Regions from separate parts of the Homo sapiens genome. Here all the other regions are linked to region 3. Evidence: promoter capture Hi-C in 16 types of primary human blood cells and fetal thymus (Javierre and others, 2016). All regions are on one chromosome and are shown on one strand. The core of a region is centred on a gene start or on the middle of the fragment in contact, and the rest is flanking DNA. Distances in the headings are between cores, read along the strand shown. Region 1 overlaps ZDHHC8 (zDHHC palmitoyltransferase 8). Region 2 has its middle 25 kb from the start of CCDC188. Region 3 holds the start of SCARF2 (scavenger receptor class F member 2).

Evidence for each region. The method cuts DNA at HindIII sites, captures the fragments that hold promoters and counts their contacts. A CHiCAGO score of 5 or more calls a contact.
Region 1: a contact is called between a fragment that was not itself captured here and the fragment with the promoter of SCARF2 in region 3, in 3 of 17 cell types (M0 macrophages, endothelial precursors and M1 macrophages). The highest score is 7.4, in M0 macrophages.
Region 2: a contact is called between a fragment that was not itself captured here and the fragment with the promoter of SCARF2 in region 3, in 2 of 17 cell types (erythroblasts and endothelial precursors). The highest score is 5.4, in erythroblasts.

Annotation. Positions count from the first base shown.
Region 1 is chr22:20,138,427-20,141,126 of GRCh38, reverse strand. ZDHHC8 (zDHHC palmitoyltransferase 8) reads right to left here. Exons shown (of 11, transcript NM_013373.4): 2 at 1,812-1,933; 3 at 1,492-1,649; 4 at 1,235-1,407; 5 at 910-1,012; 6 at 419-510; 7 at 115-256. Among named protein-coding and RNA genes, the nearest start is that of ZDHHC8, 8.0 kb to the right of the region's middle. The HindIII fragment of the contact is 2,442 bases long and covers 159-2,600 here.
Region 2 is chr22:20,174,332-20,177,031 of GRCh38, reverse strand. No RefSeq gene overlaps it. Among named protein-coding and RNA genes, the nearest start is that of CCDC188, 25 kb to the right of the region's middle. RefSeq lists an enhancer at 1-241. The HindIII fragment of the contact is 2,001 bases long and covers 324-2,324 here.
Region 3 is chr22:20,436,383-20,439,082 of GRCh38, reverse strand. It overlaps SCARF2 (scavenger receptor class F member 2), which reads left to right and starts at 1,258. Exons shown (of 11, transcript NM_182895.5): 1 at 1,258-1,501. The coding sequence starts at 1,329. LOC107985588 (a long non-coding RNA gene) reads right to left here and starts at 1,087. Exons shown (of 2, transcript XR_001755623.2): 1 at 572-1,087. The HindIII fragment of the contact is 6,009 bases long and covers 1-2,700 here.

The DNA of each region.
Region 1 (2,700 bases), core at 130-2,629, 300 kb after region 3:
GAATCTGTCTACGGCTCTGTCTGCCCCATCCACCTCTTCTAGGCCCCCACCAACCTGCCTGTTTCCCCATCCAAGGGCCTGACTGCCAGCCCATCCCTAAGCCCAGGCGCCCACCTTGCTACGGCCCAGGCCAGCCTTCAGCCCGTTGTCACTAAGCTTGACCTTGAGCGGTGCAGCTCGGTCCAGGAGTTCAGGCCTAAGGAAAGGCGGCTTCAAACTCACCGCGAGCGGCAGCCGGGGTGGCTCCACCACGTACCTGCACCAGGGCACAGGGGTCAGTAGCCAGCCCACCTGCCACAAACACACAAGGGCAGGGCTGGCCATACCTGGCAAGAGCCAAACGGACCAAGAGGGTCTAAGGCTGCCCGCCCCACACCCAGCAGAGGCCCCCCTCCACCCTGCCCAGGCCGGGCCTCACCGGGGCGCCAGGGGGCTACACAGCACGTGCTCCACATTCCCACAGCAGCCTCGGGTGAAAGGGTTCACACCCCCGCGGAACTTCCCAGTCACCTGTGGATGCAGGACCCTCAGCCAGCCTGGCCTCCCAAGGTCCAGGCCAGGGTGGGCAGGGGGCTGGGCAAGGGAGCTGGGGTTCCTTAGAAGCTGATACTTGCGGGAAGTGGCTTAGGTGGGATCAGCCCAGGGCTGCCCCTCACATAGGTTACCCAGCCTGAACTTGCAGGGAGCTGTGGGATTTCTGGGTCACTGGTGGCCACAGTGTCCACAGGCAGGATGTGCGCAGGGGACGGGGCAGGCGTAGCCCCACGTGGGGGTCTCAGAGTTGGAGCCTCGTCTCAACACAGCTGCACAAGCTACCTCAGGCAAGGGTGCCCCAGCCCCCACCCTGTCCCCATGCAGCCCCAACTCTCTCGGCCCTTTGGGGCCACCCATCCCCCATGGGGTCTGCACCTGCTCGTTGGTGGTGCGCCCCCGAGTGACCAGCACCACATGGAAGCCAGTGAGGCCAATGACAGGGATGAAGAAGAGGCCGGCCACACACATGACAGCCATGCTAGCCCGTTAAGGCCAACGGTGCAGGCCAGGACACCGCAGACCCCATCGCAGCAGCACAGAGCAGGTGCCTGTGGACAAACCTCCTCCCAACCTAGGGACGGCCACCTGCCCACTGGGGATCCCTGGGCAGGAACCAAGCCTTCTGAGGCTCAATCTCCCTGGTGAACGTGTCCCCGGTCCACATCGCCTCTGCAATGAGGCCCACAGGAACCAAGGATACGTGATGGTGGTGTGCGCGGCTCCCAGCCCCTCAGCGTGGTTCAGCACGTAGACCAGGCCGAAGGCCACGACGCCCACCATGTGTGCACTGAGTGACAGCAGGAACAGGAAGAAGTAGCGATAGTTTCGACGCCCGATGCAGTTGTTGACCCAGGGGCAGTGGTGGTCAAAGTCCTGGGCGGGAGCAGTGCATCAGGGCACATGGCAGGCAGGGATGTGGCACAGGGCTGGGGGAGCGCGGGGCAGCAGGGCGGTCACCTCTACACAGTTGTCACAGACGCTGCAGTGGGAGCAGCGCGGCGGGCGGTAGAAGTGGCACGTGGCACACCACTTCATGCGGACCTGGATACCTCGCACATCCACGTTCTTGTACAGCGGAGCCCGGAAGTCGTCCTCCTTGTCCTCATCCTCATCCGCTACAGACCAGGAGCCAGGCAGTGAGCAGGAAGTTGACTTTCCTGGCAGGTGAATCCCTCCCCCAAGTCCAGCCCACCCACCAGGAATCCCTAAGGCTGTCTCAAGTTAGCCACTCACACTCTAGTGAAAGTGAGAGGAGCTGCCGCAGCACAGGGCCCTACCTCGGGGGAAAACACCAGGGTCCATGAAAGTGGCCATGCTGAAGTTGGCCAGGACAAAGAGGAAGATGATGCCATTGTAGACGGGAACAGCTGGGGACACAGCTCGTGTCAACCACGGGCACCTGCAGTAGACAGTGGGGGCAGAGAGTGGAGTCTGGGGGTGCAGAGCGGATGCAGGCGCAGAGCTATGTGGTGCGGCAGGCTGGGCCTGCAAGGTCACCCTCAGAGCTCAGAGGCAGTGGGGAGGCTGCCACAGCCCTGCCAAGAAACCTCAGCCACATCGCTCCTTCGAGTAACGGCCAGAGGCTGTGCGTATCAGTACAGCATGTGGGCTACCCGTGCCCTGACCCGGCAACCTCTCAGGGCAGCCGTCTCAGAGAGGCCCACAGACCTAAGGTCACCCCATTCCAGCGACCTAGGCTCCATGACTGGGGCGGGGTAGGGGGCGGGGGCGGTACACAGGCTGGAGGTGGGAGCCCCAGATGGAAAATGCGCCACGATGCCTCATCCAGGCCTGTCCCTGGCCCAGTGGGGCCTCTCACCAGGCAGATTCTGGGGTGTGGGGAGCCCCAGTCCTTGGTCAGTAAGTGCATGGGGCATGTCTCCCCTACTCTTCCCAGTCAGGCACATCCCCATCCAGACAGCCCCTTCTTTTTAGTTTGTCACCTCCCTCCCCAGATGACAAAGTAGAACACTTAGGGACTCTAGAATGCACAACACCCCCCACCACTTCCCATCTTCCCAGCCATCAGCACTTGGCTCCAAGGCCACCCCCTCTTCCGGGAAGCTTTCCAGGACTCCAGGCTGCCCTCTGCAGCTTCCCTATAAGGTGTGCCCTCACACACCTTCCTGAAAGGCGCCTTCCTCAGCCCTTAACGGGCCTGGCCCG
Region 2 (2,700 bases), core at 75-2,574, 260 kb after region 3:
AAAGCGTTTGAAGTGTTTATTGCAGGACGGCGCTCCTGGTTTTATAAACAGATGGGGAAATAAAGTGGTGGGGATGACAAGCCGGGAACAGCTGCACAGGGACCCGGAACCTAATTCATAATTCAGCAGACTAATCAGAGAACATCTTCTGCAGGCGCCATAACGAAGGGACGTGAGGCCGCAACTGATGAGCCAATCCCCATGCGCCTGCCACGCCAGCCACGCCCCTGCACTGCTGACCCCAGTGTGAGCCCCTGCCTCCAGCCCTGGCCTGACCGAAGCACCCAGCCCCATCCCTGGTCACAATGACCTCCTGCCAAGCTTTCAGCAGGCGTTTTCTCAGCAGCTCCCTGCAACATTTAGTCACAAGCCCATTTTTCAGGAGAGGAAACTGAGGCGCAGGGAGAGTGAGCCTGAGGGACCTGCCCTGGTGGGTGCATACCCCCACAAGCCCTGGATCCCCAATCCACTGCCCAGGGGTGCACCCAAAGAGGTGGGTTTGGCCCTCCTGGACCACCCTGGATCCTCTTGTGCAGGAGGGACTCCAAGTAGACTGAGGAGCTCTTCCCTTCCAGCAGTTGAGATGTGGAGGGAGAAGGAAGAAGGGGGAGAGTGTTTACCAGCCAAGAGGACGTGGGATGGGTGTGAGGCTGGCCTTTGAGGAGCATGGACTGGGCGGGGACCTACCGGTGGGTTGTACATGGGGAAGCCCATGGGCCCCGAGCAGGGAACCTGGAATAATTGAACATAAAAATTCACATGCATTTGGCCAGGCGCAGTGGCTCACACCTGTGATCCCAGCATTTTGGGAGGCCGAGGTGGGAGGATCACTTGAGGTCAGGAGTTTGAGACCAGTCTGGCTAACATGGCGAAACCCCGTCTCTACTAAAAATACAAAAAAATTAGCCAGGCGTGGTGGCGCACGCCTATAGTCCCAGCTACTTGGGAGGCTGAGGCAGGAGAATTGCTTGAACCCAGGAGGTGGAGGTTACAGTGAGCCAAGATCGCGCCACTGCACTCCAGCCTGGGTGACAGAGTGAGACTCCATCTCAAAACAATAAAATAAAATAAAATAATTCACATGCATTTTATGAATCTTCTAGCTCCGACAGGAGCCCCAGTGTTCACAGCAGTCGTGGACTGTAAAATGCACAAGATGAAATGTTTGTGACAGCCGTAAAGTCCTCGTTTTCTCCTCGGCTGCAGTGGAAACATGGGGCAGCGGGGCCGTGGGCGCCAAGCCTCCCCATCCCCCGCTGGCCCCTGCCCCTGCCGCACGTGCTCGTGTGTGCCCTGTGAGTACCCAGCAAGACATGGGGACTGAGGAAAGAGCCCAGCTCACACCTGCCCTCTGCAGCTCACGGCCTCCTCAGGCAGACATATGGGGTCAATTAAACTCTGCAACAAGCCTTTTACTTAAACACATCAAACCACAAATACCATCAGAGTGGTTGATGTCGTAGCAGAGGAAGGCAAGGGGGCTGCGGTGCCTACAGGGGTAGTTCAGGGGCCTTGTGGAGTTGGGCTCCAAAGTCTAGGTAGGAGCTTGCCAGTGTGAGCAGCACCAGTCACCCGCCACTGTGGCACTGGCGCCGGATGGGACTCAGACGTGGGTTAGAAAGCCCCCAGTCAGACCCTCACCCCAACCCCCACTGGACCTCACATGCTTTCTCCCCACAGGATTTCAGAGGATGGCAGGGGAATGGGGAAACATGTGTCCGGCTACCTGCTGCTGCATGACAAAGCAGCCCAGTCTCTTGTGTGCTTGGTCTGTGGGTCTGGAGCCCGGGCAGGGCCCAGCAGGGCGGTGTGGGCAGCTCTTCTGCTGTGCATGGCATCGAGGGGGCATTCAGTGTACTCAGCCCCAGCTGTGCCCCCAGGCCTGGCCTCGGCAGACCGGCTGCAGGGCTGAGCCCCACAGGCCCTCCCGCTCCGTGGGCTCTCCCTGCTGGTCAGATTCCTTCAAGGCAGCTCAGGACCAAAAGCAGAAAGCAGAACAGCTGGGCTCTGAGGGCCTGGGGTGCAGCGCAGCGCCATGTCCACCCAACACCAATGGTCAAAGCTGTCCAGGCCTTCCTAGGTCCAGGGAGGGATGAAGACTGACAGACTCACAGAAGGTCAAGGAATGTGCGTTTGGCCCCGTTGAGTCTCTGCAGGATGGGCTCAGTACAAAGCGCTGGGCAGGGCAGAGGAGCAGAGCCCACCTGGACCCCAGCCAGGAGCCCACAAGTGCCAACAGCTCCCTGGGAAACAGGACCAGGGCCCCCAGCTCCTGGGTGGGCGAGGTATGCAGTAACTGGCCCCTCAGGGGGTGGAGCCAAGCTTGGAGACCCCTGCCGAGGCAGGGTCTCAGTGCTGAAGCAGGATTTGGACCCACTTTTTCTGTACTCTGACCCCTTTCCCAAAGTCAACCTCCCTTTGAGGTCCTCTCCCCAAAACACCCCCTGACCAGCACAGCCCTCCTCTGCGTGCTGCAGGCAGACTCCTCCCTGTTCCTACACCACCTGCCCGAGGTCCCCCAGCTCTTGAATGGCAGAGTGAGGACATGAAGCCGGTGTCCCTGACTCCAGGGCTGTGTTCTTGGCCCCAGCCCGGACCCCCGCATGCATCTACATCTGCTGTCTGCACTTGGTACCTGCCGCTCTTCCCCGGCCCCCACTGTCCCACAGTGAGACAGAACCCTGATCAGACTCCCTGCAC
Region 3 (2,700 bases), core at 9-2,508:
GCCTGGTGATGCCCATGGCCTTGGGCCTTTCAGTGGCTCCTCCTCCAAGCCCCCTCCTCCAGCCCCACCCTTCGGGGCTATCTGGCCACACCTGGACAGAGTCTGCCTGCCCTCCCTCAGTGAGCCTGTGGGCCGCATGTGGCCTGCTCCCCAAAGAACGGAGGTGCCCGCTCCCTGCTTAGGCCTTCTGCCAGCTCTCAAGTCCCCAAAAGACAAACATCCTCACTAGGACCTGGCTACACACGGGACATTTGTGCTCCCTGCCCAACTTCCAGAGTCGGTCTGCCCCAGTTGCCCCCCGGGGACCCGCACCCTGCTGCCTCCCAGTCCAAGTCCAGCTTCCCCGCTGGCTCCCTAGGGCCTGTCCCTCTGTCTTGCTCCCTTCCCACACCTTCCTTCTGCTCTGTGCTGTTACCCACCTTACCTGATGCAGGAGTTCCCACTCTCTAGCCCCAGCCTCTCCTGGAAATCCGACAGCCAGCAGAATCCACCGCCCAGGCTCCCCCAGCCCCCTTCACTCCTCAACTAGGACTGCAGGGTTTCCATCCCGGGGGTCTCCTTCTGTCTTTACCTCTACTTCCTACCGCAGTCCACAGCCTGGCCATTCTACTTCCTCTGTATCTCTCCCATCCGTCCCTACGGAGACCCCTTCCCCCAGGCCTCTGGTCCGGACCGAGTCTACCACAGGCCTCAAGCATCCTGCTCGGTCCGCCCCTTGCGAGCTCTGAGTGCGCAGGAGTGCGCAGGGGGAGCTGACCGCACACCCCAGCACTACAAGGACTTCGCGGTGGGGTGCTGTGGAGTTGGCTTTCGGCCTCGACCTGGGCTGTCTGCGGGCCCCACTCCCTTGGCCGGTTCCGAGGCGCTGGGAGCGGGGGTGGGCTTGCGGAGTCGCGTCCGTGTCCCCGATCCGCCTTCCCGTCCCGGGCCTGGCCTACGCAGTGGGCGCGCAGGGGCGGCTGCTTCGGTAGATGTCTAGGGAGCGGAGGGAAAGGCGCGGGAACCGGGGATTCCTCGGGCGGACCCTCCCTCCACCAGCGCTCGGCGGGCCTCCTCCAAGTTCGCCCCCAAGTTTGCGAGCGGCCAAATGGGGGCGGGGGCTGCGCGGAGGGGCGGTGGCTAGGCCGGAGGGTGGGGTCTGGAGCGCGGGGCGGGCGCTGCCGCCTGGCCGGCCGCGGCTGGCCCGGGATCAGGGAGCCGATGTGGAATTTCCTGCCCGGCTCGGCGCCCCTCCTGCCGCCCCCCGCCCGGCCTCGCACTCCGCTTCCGGCCGCTCTCGCTGCGGCCGCACCCGCGCCCGTGCCCGCCCCGCGCCTGCCCCGCGCCTCATGGAGGGCGCAGGGCCCCGGGGGGCCGGGCCGGCGCGGCGCCGGGGAGCCGGGGGGCCGCCGTCACCGCTGCTGCCGTCGCTGCTGCTGCTGCTGCTGCTCTGGATGCTGCCGGACACCGTGGCGCCTCAGGAACTGAACCCTCGCGGCCGCAACGTGTGCCGTGCTCCCGGGTAGGAGCCGGCCTGGCTGGGGGAGGGGGCGAGAGGGACGCTCTGGGCAGTGGTGTGGCGGCGCCGGGCATTGGGAGGGGGCTACCGGAACCTTCCTACGCCAAGTGTGGGCCCCTTCGGCTCCCTAGCCAGCGCGGCTCCGTTCCAGGCCCAGCCTCGGCCATGGGCCACGACAGTGCATCCCAGGGAACCCTGGACGAGAAGTCACCTGAGGGGAGGATGGAGTGCCGTGGGCACCCAGGGGATGACACGCGTTGTCCGGGATATCAGGAAAGACCTGGAAAAAGGGACCCTTGACCGAGTTGTGAAGTCCACGGGGAAAAGCTGGGGAAGGGCATTCAAGCCAAAGGAACTGCATGTGCTAAAGCCCCGCACTAGTCCGACTGGAGCCGGGAGTGGGAGTGAGGAGGAAGGTCAGGGGAGGAGGAGCGGTGCTAGCCGGGGAGGTCCTGGAGCAAGCCAGACTTGGAAAGACAGATTCGCGTCTTAGAGCGGGCGCGGGTGGGAGGGTGGTGACCCAGGCGAGCGTCGAGGAGCCGGCGCTCGAAGTGGACCAGAAGCGGGAGGCGGAAGGACTATGACAGGCACAGGGGACCGGAGGATGTGGGAACCCTGGCGACAACCAGGTGGGGATTCTGGGTGCAAGAAGGGGCCGCGCAAATGTGGGGCGCCGGCTGGGGAAGCCAGTGTGGGACAGGCAGGCGACAGGCCCGGCCGGTGGGGGGGCGAGTCCGGGAGTTTGCACGGAGGGCAGAGAGGTGAGCCCCGGACGCCAGGAGTTAGGAGCTGGGGTCGGGGGAGCCGGTGGGCTGGCCAAAGGCCACAAGGTCAAGGGCATCTCCACGCAGGGGTGAGGAGCGGGCGTGTGGGGGCGCCTTGGCGCGGATTGGAGACGCCGCACGGGCTGGCAGCCGCAGAGGCGGCCGCCGGGCTCCGAGCTGGGTCGCGTCGGGGCGCCTGAGCCACGGACCCGGGGCAAGCCGAGTCCAGGGGCTCGGCGCCAGAGACAAGGGGCTGCGAGGGGGCAGCGCGGGGTTTCCGAACTCTGGTCCGGAGGCGCGCAGACCCCTCCCCGCTGCGAGCCCCGCCTCCGGGGCGGGGGCCGGCCTGGCCCGCCATCTGCTTCGCATCGATGCCGCCGCCGCGGACTCCCGGGCCTCCCCGGCCCCAGGAATGCAGCGGCGGCGGCGGGCGGGGCG